5 separate regions of the Homo sapiens genome follow, and all the other regions are linked to region 2. The links are contacts of gene promoters, found by promoter capture Hi-C in blood cells and fetal thymus (Javierre and others, 2016). All regions are on one chromosome and are shown on one strand. The core of a region is centred on a gene start or on the middle of the fragment in contact, and the rest is flanking DNA. Distances in the headings are between cores, read along the strand shown.

Region 1 (2,897 bases), core at 5-2,504, 190 kb after region 2:
AAAAAACGAATCAGGCTCCCAGCAAGCTCTCCATCTCAGTAAGAAGCACAAGTATTATTACCCATAATTCTCCCTACCTCCTCTTTTGCCTGGGGGTGCTGGAATCCCCCCACTGCCTCCTGTTCTGGGCCAGTACTTGATTTACAGAGCTCATAAATCCAGGCCATGCTCGGGGGAAAAAAGCACCATGATTCTGACCTTAAAATCAAGGTTTGGCTGGGCGGAGTGGCTCACACCTGTAATCCCAGCACTTCGGGAGGCCGAGGCAGGTGGATCACCTGAGGTCAGAAGTTCGAGACCAACCTGTCCAACATGGTGAACCCTAGCCTCTACCAAAAATACAAAAATTAGCCGGGCATGGTGGTGGGCACCTGTAATCCCAGCTACTTGGGAGGCTGAGGCAGGAGAACTGCTTGAACCCAGGAGACAGAGGTTGCAGTGAGCCGAGATCGCGCCACTGCACTCCAGCCTGGATGACAGAGTGAGACTCCGTCTCAAAAAAAAAACAAATAAAAATAAAAATGAAAATAAAACAAGGTTAAAGGAGAGGGGAATCAGTTCATTTCCACAGATTCCCTATTTTTATAGTTAAAAAAAATAAGATTTTAAAGGTATTTAACGAGGACGACCATGGTAGTACAATCCCAATATTCTCTAGGATCAAAAACCTATTAACCACAATAAACGTTCTTAAAAACTGAAGAGAAAAAGAGAACTCAGACATCCTCTAGTTCTATTGCTCTAAGGACCCCAGTTCCTATTGTTCTAGGGGTAAGAGGCCTAAAATGCCAAGCAAACCTGAGAGTGCCATTACTATTACATGAGTATCATCTGTCTTTCTTTTCCTGCCCAGTAGCCCAAGAACTGAAAGTCCACCACTAGAGCTCCCTATGAAGACATCCATATCACTTTCTCCAATGACTACCCTATACTGGAAAGGTTTCCCCTGGGAACTACACTATTGGGTGCTAAACGCTTCCAAAATACCACAGAGGAAAACTGTCTCATAGATCAGGAAAATAATAATTCTCAAAGAAAGATATACTCAAACACATGTCTTTGGTCTCTCATATGCACCTTCTTTTCCAGCTCTGCAGCTTTGGCTTCAGATTTCTCCACCTTTGTCTTATCAATCATTTGATCTGAAAAGAAGAAGAGTCAGTAAGTAAAGCTCCTAATTCTCTTGTTCTATTTCTTTCACACTACACCCTTCCAAAGAACAGTCTTTTTGATCATTTTTATTATCTTTCTTAATGTTCTGCACTAGACAAAGAAATGGAACTTTCAGTTAAGTTCAACATGTAATCTGAGTGTGCGGTAAGGCCACCATGCTGGGTGGCAAGAAGAATGCCTATGAGTGATATTTTTGACTCTCTGAGACCACCAGGAGTTCCTGCAAAAGGTGCTGGTGTGTGTTTTATCTAAAAATAAACTAAAGACCTATAGATTCCTAGCAAAGATGCTGGTTATGACCTAAGAAAGGACAAAAATAGAACTATCTGGGGACTGGAAAGGTATCTTCTCTGACATTTTCACTGAAACAAGATGCAAAATGAAAGGAAGAAGCAATACTTGGAGGAGCCAGATAGAAGAGTATGCTTACCAATTAATCCCTCAATCTCAATCTGGAGGTGCCGGCACTTGAAGTCAGGATCAGCCCCGTTCTTGTGCAGAACTATCTGGGAAATACATTCTTCAATCAACTTATAGTACTGAGGTCTACAAGAGAATAAAAACAGGGTCATCAAAGGAAAATCAAAATATAATTTTCAGAAGTATTCAGGACCAAGAAAACGTAATTGCTCTGACAACTGAGAGACCTGGAAAAACTTTTGTAAAGTTAACACAAGTATTGCTGCCATGCTAAGAAAACTCCTTTTTCCACATCAGCTACCCTACCCTATCTACTTCAAATAATCAAAACTTCTTGCCATCCGCTCCTAGTGCCAATACTTTCCCATCTAAAAATTTGCGTTTGATCCTTCCTGTGATGGATAGTGCTATTGCTAAATCTATACTTCCAGGAAACTAGAAAGAATTTTAAATTGCCACTTCTGTTTGCTAACATCTTCATCCTATTTACCTACTCCCCTCCAAAAACAGAACGGCATTTCACCTTATACACTCTGACCTCTGCCATAGGGATGCCTTTGAGTTGGATTAAAGAAATAAGACAACTTCCTTTATATCGGTGACTAATGAACCCTAATCTTGGGTCTTTGTCTTTACATTTTCCTTTTACAGAACAATCTTTGAATTTAAGGAATTCACTCTCTCCACTTAGGCTCAAATTCAAAACTTCTCATAAGCACAGCATCTTACCTGGCCTCATAGTCATTTCGGACCAAGAGTAAGTGCTGCAGGATGGAAAGGAAGTGTGGCTCTGCCTTTGAATCCTTCACTGTGTTTAAGAGAATCTGAAAGACTTCATTAAAGTCAGTGGAAAAGGGAAATAGGCTAAGGAAAGCAAATATGCAGAAATTATGTTTGACAGGTGGCTTATTTAACTCTTGAAAAAGCTAGGGAAAAGTAGCAAGACACCACTTCCATTCTACTGGCTGTTCTTCCTGTAAACATCACCAGAAACTTTAAGCTTTCTAAAACGTCCTTTAAGGGACCAGTGAATTGGGTGGTACTATACACACAGAGGATTCCTAGTAAGTACTTGGCTTGAAGATCAGGCAGTAGACAGAAAATAAGAGGTAACTGCCTCAAAGTCACTTACTGAAAATATTAACAGGTAACTAAATTACTCCCTCTGTCAGTCCAAACATCTCTAAAAGCCAGTTCTACATCTTAGTAAGCTAAGCTATCACATTCTAGGAAGTTTACACTGATTTTGATGGCTTCCATGCTCAACAACCCTCAGATCACCTTTACTGACTTCCCTGATCTAT
Region 2 (2,768 bases), core at 135-2,634:
AGGGTAGCCTCGGATCCATCAATAATTTAGTTTTACTCTATCAACATCAGTGGAGAGACGAGTACCTCTAAGGATCCTGTCAGGACAGTCCTGCATTTTGCTCAAATGCTGTCTAGAGATCCCTGTTTTCTCAATTACACTAGAATAGAGTAGGATGAAGATTTGAATTGCATACTAGGATGAAGACTTGAATTGAATTGCATAATGAAAAGAATCAGCCAATCCATTATCCAGTTTCTTATGAATTCACAGCCCAGTAGGATCTCTGCAGATTTCTGCCTTCTGTAGAAAATGGGTTGCTTCTATAGCTGATTGCTGCAGCCAAGACAAACAACGATTTCTTTCTTTTTTTCTCACAAGACTGGGAGTGAGAATATTTGGATTCCGACATTGTTCTACTACTATATAATCAATAATCAGGAACAAGGCAAGGCAATTCCCTCTTTCTTTCTTTCTTTCTTTCTTCTTCTTTTTTTTTTTTTTTTTTTTTTGGCAGAGTTTTGCTCTTGTTGTCCAGGCTGGAGTGCAATGGTGTGATCTCGGCTCACCACAACCTCCACCTCCCGGGTTCAAGCGATTTTCCTGCCTCAGCCTCCTGAGTAGCTGGGATTACAGGCGCGCGCCACCACGCCCGGATAATTTTGTATTTTTAGTAGAGACGGGGTTTCTCCATGTTGGTCAGGCTGGTCTCAAGCTCCCGACCTCAGGTGATCCGCCCGCCTCGGCCTCACAAAGTGTGGGATTACAGGCGTGAGCAACAGCACCTGGCCCCCCCTCTCATTTTTTAAACGGTTAAAATGAAGGTGTTAGACCGTCTCTAAGGTTCTATACAATCAAAAATTTATTAAAATAGGTCTATATATTTTACAACAATTTTGACTTTCTGAATCTTGCATCATGGTGTCTAGAACATATGTGTTCAATTAATACTGAATTAATTAAAATTTATATACACTGATGTAAATATTTTCTAAGTAAAATCTTTCATATGTATTTAAATAAAATTTACCTTTTTGCCTTCAATAACTGATTTTCCCATGTGCAATAACGTGTGAGTCAGTGCCCAAAAGAGTCACTTGAAAGTTGCAAGGCAAAGCAGTTTTTTAAAAATTATCTAAGATTATCAAACACCGGTCCATGAACACTGTTGCATTAATTCAGTGTCTTAAAATGGATTTTTAATTATCAGGGATATCTAGAGCAAAGAAATCTAACAGGGAAATTTTGAAAGATGAAACAATTTTCTATGAAATCAGTGTATTGTGTGCATCAATGTGGTGCAGTAACTTAGTAAGGACTCACAGCGCCGCTGTTCACCAACCAGGGAAAAATGGTGCGAGAGATCCCACAGAAACCACCGAGTTTTACAGCACAGAGAAACGACAGATTGCGATAAGCCCTCTTCCAGGCTGCACTAAACTCAAGCCTCTATCCTGCTGGATTCTGAGCTCCCCTTCCTAAGACAGAGGGGTCCACCCGGATACACCCGCATTCTGAAGCACTTCCCGAGATCGGCGCCTAAGCAAGAGAAGCAGGACGACTATGGCGGCTCAGCCGAGGGGCGGGGACTACAGAGGATTCTTCCTGCTCTCCATCCTCCTGGGGACCCCCTGGGAAGCCTGGGCAGGACGTATTCTCTACTCCGTGTCGGAGGAGACGGACAAAGGGTCCTTTGTGGGAGACATCGCCAAGGACCTGGGGCTGGAGCCCCGGGAGCTGGCGGAGCGCGGAGTCCGCATCATCTCCAGAGGTAGGACGCAGCTTTTCGCCCTGAACCAGCGCAGCGGCAGCTTGGTCACTGCGGGCAGGATAGACCGGGAAGAGATCTGCGCTCAGAGTGCGCGGTGTCTGGTAAACTTTAACATCCTGATGGAAGATAAAATGAATCTTTACCCTATAGACGTGGAAATAATAGATATTAATGACAACGTTCCAAGATTCTTGACGGAAGAAATAAATGTAAAAATAATGGAGAATACAGCTCCTGGGGTTCGGTTTCCGTTAAGCGAGGCTGGGGATCCAGATGTGGGCACGAACTCCCTCCAGAGTTACCAGCTCAGCCCCAATCGCCACTTCTCCCTGGCTGTGCAAAGTGGAGACGATGAAACTAAGTACCCGGAACTGGTGCTGGAGCGGGTGCTGGACCGGGAGGAAGAGCGGGTTCACCACCTGGTCCTCACAGCCTCTGATGGCGGCGACCCGCCCCGATCCAGCACCGCCCACATCCAGGTGACAGTGGTGGATGTGAATGACCACACGCCTGTCTTCTCTCTGCCTCAGTACCAAGTAACTGTCCCCGAGAATGTGCCAGTGGGTACAAGACTGCTCACGGTACATGCTATCGACCTGGACGAGGGAGTCAATGGGGAAGTGACATATTCTTTTCGGAAAATAACTCCTAAACTTCCAAAGATGTTTCATCTGAACTCGCTTACAGGAGAAATATCAACTTTAGAAGGATTAGATTATGAAGAAACTGCCTTCTATGAAATGGAGGTTCAGGCTCAAGATGGTCCTGGTAGTCTGACAAAGGCAAAAGTACTGATCACAGTTTTAGATGTAAATGATAATGCTCCAGAAGTGACTATGACGTCTTTAAGTAGCTCAATCCCTGAAGACACACCTCTTGGGACAGTCATTGCTCTTTTCTACCTACAAGACAGAGATTCTGGAAAGAATGGTGAGGTGACCTGCACCATTCCAGAAAACCTACCTTTTAAATTAGAAAAATCAATAGATAATTATTATAGATTGGTCACAACCAAAAA
Region 3 (2,874 bases), core at 247-2,746, 130 kb after region 2:
TCTGTGGTCTTAGAGTTCCTGCTACTCTTAGGCCTGGCCCAGCTCAACCAGAGAAGGGGTTCCTCCTGTGTCGGATTCCCTGGGAGAGAGGATCTGCCTTGGACTCAAGGGTCCAGAAGGTCCAGGGGCACATTCAGGATTGGGCCTGTGAGAAGAAATCCCAGAACTCTGTAACCTGCCACCAAAGCTTCTTACATTATGGAGGGGAAAGGGGGAAGGAACAGTTTTCTTTAAAAAAATTTTTTTTTTCATACAAAAATAGATCCATTTGCAAAACAATTTCTCAGCCAGGAGGCTCCACCTCCCATTTCCTTGTAGACAGAGGGTGAGGTGTTGGGATGGTCACAGTACAACCCATAGTCCAGATGAGATGCACCAAAGCTCAGGGAAGGCATGAGGAGGGAAGGTGGCTCAGTAGCCTGGGGTTGGTGCAGAGCGTCCAGAGAGGCAAGGGCATAAAGCGTGGCAGAAGCTGGGGGCAGGTCCCACACTGTCGCTATGCCCTGCCTGCCTGCCCACAGGCTCTGGCCTGGGCCACAGCACAGCAGGGAAACTGGTCCAGATCCTTTGCTTTGGAGGCCTTTCCCAGGAAGGTGGGGTAAAGGTGGGATTTGCTCCCTGCTTCCTTAGGAGCAGCTCCCAGTGCCACACCACTAATAATAAATAACCACAGCCAGGAGAGGGAAGAGCAGAGACAACAGCAATGAAAGGAGGGATCTAGCCCAAAGGTTTACAAGCCCCATGCTATTCTCAGGGCCAGAGAAACCACAAAAGAAAAGCACAAATCCAGCAAGACTGACCTAGGGGGGAAAGCCCATTAGAAAGTCAGGGCTGAGAAAAAGCAGGCTGGGCCTTGTCTGAGATGAGGCCCTCTGAGTAACAGAGAGGAGACAGGGTTAAGGCAGCAAACATGGACCCTGCTTTGGTAATACAACAGCCAGGGCTGGCTAAGTCGGGCTCAGGCCTCCCCTGCACTGCCCTTTCCTTCTGGCCTCCAGGCAGCTGAAGCTGTATGTGATGTTGAGAGAGCAGCAGGCCAGAGAGAAAGACAGGGTCAGGGTGGTGGGAGTGGCCACCCCAGAGGAATATCCCCTTGAGCCTTTAGGCACATGCTGCAGGGCAGGACAGTCTGCGGCTCCGCTGAGGAGCTGCCGCGGTCACAGGACCCACATTAGCTTGCACGGCCAACCAACTCCTTGGCTTCCTCAAGGATTGTGGGGAATGTCTCACTGTTCTTGGACACCTTGGCAGGAACAGCAGCCATGGCATCATCCTTGGTCAGCTCCGAAGCTAGCAGAGATGTGACTGCACACCCGGCCTTCCTGTTGGCTGCAAGAGAAGACGAGAGATTCTGTCTATGGAAGGCCTCATTTCTAATTTCTTTCAAACTCTACAGCAGATAATCAGCGTAAGCCATGCAGACATGACTACCTTGGCCACTTCACAGAGGCCCTTACTTTGAAGAAAGGGGCAGAGATCCAGCATGTGGAATATATTGTTGGGTGGCAAAGAATGTAAGAGAGTGTGGTGCAACAGGAAAGCAAGCCTTGCCCCCTTGCTTCCCTGTGTGAAAACAGCACAAAAGTTTGAACACAGACAGACAGAACTGGGCTGAAGTGTTAGCTATGTGACTTAAGGAGAGATGAAGTATTCAAAGTCTATTTTCTCGTAATAGGGATGTTGGAATTAAATAGACTAAAGTTTAGTACATAGTATTATTTTTGTTTTCTTGACAGGTCCCAGGAAACTCCTAGGCCAAAACACTTCTCAGTCAGCCCTGGGAGGGTTGTCCCTAGCAGAAGGCAACCTTCCGTAAGTGGCTGGAGAGACTCCCGCAAAGAGGAACAGCAGCCACGCACTGACACCGCACTCCCACGTGTTCCTCCAACAACAGATGCCCACATGCCTTAGCTCTTTCCCACCCCTTCAAAGGTAGCAGCCGTAATACAAATGCCAAGGGCCCTACAAGGTGTGTAGAGTATGTGGGGGTGGCATGGCGGGGGGGAGGTAGTAATAAAAACTATGCCAGGGAAGCAGAACTGGGATAAAGATGGACAGGAGAGGACCCCTACCAAGAAATCTCAGCCCAGGTGGCTAAGAGATGGTCAAGTTCCGGCTGTCATACCAGATTAGAAAAGAAGAACCAAATCAATCCACGAGTTTCTGTTCTAACTGCTGGGTTTCATCCCCAAGACTCTCATATTCATTTATGGTATCTAGGCTTATGGCCCCAGTATCTGCAGCAGGAAGGCCACTCCTTGAGACCATGCCCATCTCATGATGTTTCCTCCTCCCATGCCCCAGAACAGCACAGAGCAACTGTGTATACACAAACAGCTGTCTGGGACGAAAGAAGCCTGACACGAAAGGCCATATGTTATGGGTCAGCTTCTGCGAAATGTCCAGCACAGGCAAACCCAGAGATAGAAAATAGACTGGTGGTTGCCAGAGGCAAGGGGAGGGGAGAATCAGTAGTGACTGCTAATGGGGATTATGAAGTTTTTCTTCTGGGGATGATGAAACGTCCTGGAATTAGATAGTAATGGTTATACAATCTTGTGGATATTCTAAAACCCCTGAATTATACATTTTTAAAAGGTGAATTTTAGGTATGTAAATGATAGCTCAATTGGAAAAAAAAAAAAAAAAAAAAGACTTCCTGGAGATCTGGGAAAGCTGGAGTGGAGAAAGCAGTACCGGAATGTTTTAGAAGCAGGACCAGATGAAAGAGCCGAGCACTCCTAAATAAAGACCAAGACTGGGGCAGCTGCATGACTGGAATGAAGCGCCTTTTTGGACCAGCAAAAAGCTTTAGGTAGGCAGAAGCCAAACAGGATCAGATAGCCCGTCTTTTTTTTTTTTTTTTTGATGGAA
Region 4 (2,866 bases), core at 274-2,773, 210 kb before region 2:
CCTCTTAGAAGGGGAACTAAGAAAAGTGAGGAGGAAAAGGGCAGAACAAGCCTCTTAGTGCTATTTAATTTTGGACCAAGGTCATATATTATTTTGAAAAAAATGCATTTCAAAATATCAGTAAAGTAGAGCTCTTGCAAGTCTCACCAAGAATAAAAAGGAGTTAAAATGCTAAACATCACTAATAAAAATAGGGATACAATTAAAGGTAAATAACGCAATGAAAACAATTCCAAGAAATTTGCAAACTAGATAAAATGATTTTCAAAATAAAATGCAAGTTACTTAAAAATACAAAACCTGAACAGATTAATAACCAAAGGTAAAATGTAAATGGTAGTCACTGATCTACTGCAAGTGAAGTCACCAAACCCAACCAGTTTAAAAGACAAGCTGGAATTAAGCATGTAGAAACATATAATAATATAATTATTAAAACTATTGTATAAAATAGATAAAAAGCTCCCTAACACATTCTATGATGCCAGTATAATAGTTTAATACCAAGGCCATAAAAGGCAAACACGCACTAGGTAAACAACATTAACTAGAAAAATCCTAAAACCATGTTGACACATCATATCTATCTGTGCACTAAAACAATAATACATTATGGTTAAATGTCATTTATATCAATAACTCAGTAATTTAGAAACTAAAGAATAAATGTATTATTTCAACAGCTATCAAAAATCACTTCAAAATATGAAAGAATAAAAAGAAAACTTTATTGATTCAAAAAAGGAATATTTACCCCAAATTGAGATCAACCATCATAGTTGAAGATGAAATGCTAGAAGCACTTCCACAAATGCAAGATTGACCAACTTGCTACTACTAATTTTAAGAGTATTCATTGGACATTGGAGATTCTAGTCACTGAAATTATAGAGGAACAATAATTTCTTATGTAATACTTAAATCAGGTGAAGGATGAAGGTTGGGTTTGGGGGAGGCATAAAGTGTTCCAAGAAATATCACAGGTAAAGAGTTAAGACCTGGAAAGTGGAATAATTGTTTAATTCACAAGAAATTGGGAAAAGGGTCAATTATTCTGCCATATTCACATTATTATTGTTAAATACTTTACAAATAAATAAAATGTCCCCAACCAATATTTGTTGACTTCAAGGAGGAGGTTTCATTTTCTCATATATATTTTTACTATCCATTTTTAAAATAGGAGATTTTCTTAGGATTTCGGTGGGGAGTCAGAGTTTAGTTTCATGCTCCTAGATTTAAGAAGACTATAAATTAATTCTTCTACGAATCCAGATTATCACAGGGGAAAACGACATCAGCTATTACTTACTAGCATTACTGTGACCATTTGAGGATAAAGATGGAATGAAACAGCAAAGATACCGGGGACAAATCATTCTTGTTGCAGAATTCCTTCAATCCGCCATCTTTTTGTTCTAGTCTTGATAACGGGAATAACATCCACAAAACGCAAGGTGGCGCTGCTGGCTAAAAAGAGAGAGAGAAAAATAATTTCACAAAGAAAGGATGTTACAGATTCCAGAGCAAAGAGGCAATCTGAAGAGAAAAGCATAGGAAAGGAAACAGTGGTAATAGGAATTGGGGTAAAATGAGGATCCTTCCCCACAAACATTGCTATTATTCAGCTCATTTCAAAGGATTCCGCTGCTGCCATTTGTGAGAGCCGCTGGAGGCTGAGTGAAAGTCATTTTGAAAGACTGATCCAAAGAAGAATGGAGGCCAGAGTGGAGCGTGCTGTGCAGAAAAGGCAAGTCTTATTTCTTTGTGTATTTCTGGGAATGTCTTGGGCTGGCGCCGAACCGCTTCGGTATTTTGTGGCGGAGGAAACCGAGAGAGGCACCTTTCTTACCAACTTGGCAAAAGACCTAGGGTTAGGGGTAGGGGAACTGAGAGCCCGGGGAACTAGAATTGTTTCAGACCAGAACATGCAAATTTTACTGCTCAGTTCGCTTACTGGTGATCTACTTCTAAATGAGAAATTGGACCGAGAGGAACTGTGTGGCCCCAGAGAGCCCTGTGTGCTGCCTTTCCAGTTGTTATTGGAAAAACCTTTTCAGATTTTCCGTGCTGAACTATGGGTCAGAGACATCAATGATCACGCTCCAGTATTTCTAGACAGAGAGATTTCCTTGAAAATATTAGAAAGTACCACTCCAGGGGCGGCATTTCTCCTAGAGAGTGCACAGGATTCAGATGTTGGAACCAACAGCCTGAGTAACTACACCATCAGCCCCAATGCCTATTTCCATATTAATGTCCATGATAGCGGGGAGGGGAATATCTATCCCGAATTGGTGCTGAATCAAGTGCTGGATCGGGAAGAGATACCAGAGTTCAGTTTAACCCTCACCGCTTTAGACGGCGGCTCTCCTCCAAGATCAGGGACCGCCCTCGTGCGCATTCTGGTTCTAGACGTAAATGACAACGCCCCTGATTTTGTGCGGTCGCTCTACAAGGTGCAGGTGCCCGAAAATAGCCCCGTTGGTTCCATGGTTGTCTCCGTGTCAGCCAGAGATTTAGATACCGGAAGTAATGGGGAAATAGCCTATGCATTTTCTTACGCCACTGAAAGAATTCTCAAAACGTTTCAAATCAATCCAACATCTGGCAGTCTTCATCTTAAAGCGCAATTGGACTATGAGGCAATTCAAACTTACACATTAACTATTCAGGCCAAAGACGGCGGCGGGCTTTCTGGAAAATGCACTGTAGTGGTTGATGTAACAGATATAAACGATAATCGACCCGAGCTGCTCCTGTCTTCACTTACTAGCCCAATTGCAGAAAACTCACCCGAGACAGTCGTGGCTGTTTTTAGGATTAGAGACAGAGATTCCGGGAACAATGGAAAGACAGTGTGCTC
Region 5 (2,737 bases), core at 95-2,594, 150 kb after region 2:
ATTTAGATCCCTCCCTTCCTAGTACTCTCATAAACATTCTAGCATACCTCCATCATAGCATTTATTAATCTGCACTGTTATCATCTGCCTTTCTGTCTTTACCAAATACGTGGCTCATGCAGACAGGGACTATTGTCTTATTCAGCTTTGTATCATTAGCACATGAGAGACATTTAATCACTAAATTCCATCTTCCAGACCATCCTATCCTATACTACTCTCAATTTTCTTTTCTTAAATTCTGTTTTCCATATCAATATCATAACACTAGAAATCATAATGTACTACACCATTGTCTTTCTTGTATCATTTTTTAAACCAATTACTCATGTCTTATGTTCCTAGAGATACTCTTGGGAAGAGGAACTGACTCACAATACTTTAATCTCCATAAGACTTCACCACAGACACTATGTAGTAATAGTTATTGACAATAATTTAAGATTATATAATCAAGAATAATGTGACAGTTTACTGGTCTCATTGTATCACTGACTTTACTTATGGGTATGTGTACTTATTGGCTGTGTGATCTGGGCACTTCGCATCATTTAAACTTTGGTTTTCTCATTTGGATAAACAGGGACAATAACTGCATCACAAGACTATGAGTGGGTTTTACGGAAAATACCCTTTCATCTCTGGAACACATGCCTAATAGAGCCTATAACATAGCAGACCCTGAAATATTTGTCAAATAAATATTTAAGTCTATATTTCTTGGTATGAAGTAGGTAGATGAGTAATTAAAAAGAACAAAAATTTAACATTTGTCCTGATCATCAAATAAGTACTACCTATATCAACTTTGCAGAGGAATTTCTCATTTGAAATTTTGCTACCAAAGAGTTACGAGTATACGTGGAAACTTCAGAACAGAACCCTTCTCTGGAGTTACTGATCCTACTCTGAGAAGTACAAAATTTACCTTAGTTATTTTAAATCACAAAGTAATTTTAAATTTAATTGAAGCCAAGCTAGTACCTTTACTTATCAGAAAGTGAAAGCTGGGCATGGTAGCTTACATCTGTAATCCCAACATATTGTGAGGCTGAGGTGGGCAGATCACTTGAGGCCAGGAGCTTAAGACCAGCCTGGGCAACATAGCGAGACCCCTTCTCTATTTATTTAATAAAAAAGCAAAAGTGGGAGCAAGGAAATGTCCAGTGGCTAGACCATCTGTGGTAGACTTTCTGTGAACGCAATGGACATAGTAAGAACTTTTAAATAAGAAAGTCAGAGACACAGCTGGGCAGATCACCTGAGCCCAGGAGTTTGAGACCAGCCTGAGCAACATGGCAAAACCCCATCTCTACAAAAAATTAGCTGAGCATGGTGGTGCACACCTGTAGTCTCAGCTACTTGGGAGGCTGGGGTGGAAGAATCAACTGAGCCCAGGAAGCTGAGGTGGCAGTGAGCTGTGATCGCATTATTACACCCCAGCATGGGCAACAGAGTGGTGAGACTGTGTCTCAAAAAAAAAAAAAAAAAAAAAAAAGGCTCAAATCCCAGACCTCCTTCTTACTAGCTTTATGTCTAAGCAAATTCCTAAAAGTCTTAGCTTGTTTCCTTGACATAAAACTGGATACTTAAAAATCTTGCAGTGCTATTGAAGAAATTAAACATGATACTGAAAATTCACTGTGCAATGGTTGGTATATAGCAGGAATTGAACAATTAAAGTTCCATATCAAGGGACCATAGATTCAAGAGAATTAAAAATTCTTAAAAGAATTCCTTCACATTTTGAATAGTTGGGACCAAGAGATACTCACAGAGATTCTGGGCTGTCTTTGAATCCAACACCTTTAACTCTTTTACTTTTTTCTTTTGCACAGATTTCTTTTCTTCTCCACCTTCTTGATCCTTCTTGGCTAGCAGGGAAAAGATTAGAAAAGCATGATTAAAAGTAAGCCACCTCTGTGCTTTACCAAGCAACTACTGTCCAGCGTGAAATGGCCCCTCACTTCCTCTCTATTATAATGGTCTATTGTATTCCTTCAAAACTAACCTCCTCTTCAACCAACCACCCTTTTATTACTGAACCTCCCCCAACTCTAATAAATATCTCATTTTCATTTCTTCAATATTTATCAGTAATGCTTTCCTACCTACATCCTATCTACTTGCAGGGATCAGCAAGCTGCCTGTAAAGGACCAGATAGTAACTATTTTAGGCTTTGCAGGCCATATGGTCTCAATTATTCAACTCTGCCACTGTAGCATGAAAGCAGGCACAGACAATACATAAATGAATGGGCATGGTTGTGTTCCATTAAAACTTGATTCACAAGAACAGTTGGTTAGTAGTAGTTCAGCAGTCCCCTTCCACCATGTTATCCTTCCTTTTGTGCCTATTTAAAAATCCAACTTATCTTTCAAGCTCCATCTTTTTTGTTTGTTTTTTGAGACAGCATCTCACTGTGTCACCCAGGTTGGACTGCAGTGGCGCAATCATGGCTCACTTGCAGCCTTGACCTCTTGGGCTCAGATAATTCTCCCACTTCAGGGTCCCAAGGAGCTGGGACTACAGGTGCAGGCCACCACGCCCGGCTAATTTTTTTATTTTTTGTGGAGATGAGGTTTCACCATATTGCCCAGGCTGGCCTCAAACTCCTGGGATCAAGCAATCTGCCTGCCTCAGCCTCCCAAACTGCTAGGAGTACAGGCATGAGCCACTGTTGCCCTACCTTAAGCTCCATCTTGAACATGACTTTCTCTAAAAAAATTTTGTTTT

The links. Contacts are between HindIII fragments. The CHiCAGO score rates a contact against its expected background, and 5 or more counts as called.
Region 1: a contact is called between a fragment that was not itself captured here and the fragment with the promoter of PCDHGA7 in region 2, in 1 of 17 cell types (endothelial precursors). The highest score is 6.1, in endothelial precursors.
Region 3: a fragment that was not itself captured here is called in contact with the fragment with the promoter of PCDHGA7 in region 2 in 1 of 17 cell types (total CD8 T cells); the score reaches 6.4 in total CD8 T cells.
Region 4: the fragment with the promoter of PCDHB7 here is called in contact with the fragment with the promoter of PCDHGA7 in region 2 in 8 of 17 cell types (M1 macrophages, M0 macrophages, erythroblasts and 5 more); the score reaches 10.3 in M1 macrophages.
Region 5: a fragment that was not itself captured here is called in contact with the fragment with the promoter of PCDHGA7 in region 2 in 2 of 17 cell types (endothelial precursors and M2 macrophages); the score reaches 5.8 in endothelial precursors.

What each region holds. Positions count from the first base shown.
Region 1 is chr5:141,575,153-141,578,049 of GRCh38, forward strand. DIAPH1 (diaphanous related formin 1) reads right to left here. Exons shown (of 28, transcript NM_005219.5): 12 at 2,323-2,439; 13 at 1,604-1,719; 14 at 1,078-1,142. Among named protein-coding and RNA genes, the nearest start is that of DIAPH1-AS1, 18 kb to the left of the region's middle. The HindIII fragment of the contact is 2,674 bases long and covers 1-2,591 here.
Region 2 is chr5:141,381,358-141,384,125 of GRCh38, forward strand. It overlaps PCDHGA7 (protocadherin gamma subfamily A, 7), which reads left to right and starts at 1,385. Exons shown (of 4, transcript NM_018920.4): 1 at 1,385-2,768. The coding sequence starts at 1,543. The region is part of intron 1 of PCDHGA1 (protocadherin gamma subfamily A, 1); the gene reads left to right. The region is part of intron 1 of PCDHGA2 (protocadherin gamma subfamily A, 2); the gene reads left to right. The region is part of intron 1 of PCDHGA3 (protocadherin gamma subfamily A, 3); the gene reads left to right. It also overlaps PCDHGB1, PCDHGA4, PCDHGB2, PCDHGA5, PCDHGB3 and PCDHGA6, and 1 more gene. The HindIII fragment of the contact is 6,225 bases long and covers 1-2,768 here.
Region 3 is chr5:141,515,680-141,518,553 of GRCh38, forward strand. It overlaps DIAPH1 (diaphanous related formin 1), which reads right to left. Exons shown (of 28, transcript NM_005219.5): 28 at 1-1,329. The coding sequence ends at 1,172. It overlaps LOC124901091 (a long non-coding RNA gene), which reads left to right and starts at 1,329. Exons shown (of 2, transcript XR_007058971.1): 1 at 1,329-1,969. RefSeq lists enhancers at 359-984, 985-1,610. The HindIII fragment of the contact is 2,622 bases long and covers 186-2,807 here.
Region 4 is chr5:141,171,121-141,173,986 of GRCh38, forward strand. It overlaps PCDHB7 (protocadherin beta 7), which reads left to right and starts at 1,524. Exons shown (of 1, transcript NM_018940.4): 1 at 1,524-2,866. The coding sequence starts at 1,716. It also overlaps PCDHB@. The HindIII fragment of the contact is 10,030 bases long and covers 1-2,866 here.
Region 5 is chr5:141,532,560-141,535,296 of GRCh38, forward strand. It overlaps DIAPH1 (diaphanous related formin 1), which reads right to left. Exons shown (of 28, transcript NM_005219.5): 19 at 1,776-1,874. Among named protein-coding and RNA genes, the nearest start is that of DIAPH1-AS1, 24 kb to the right of the region's middle. The HindIII fragment of the contact is 6,140 bases long and covers 1-2,737 here.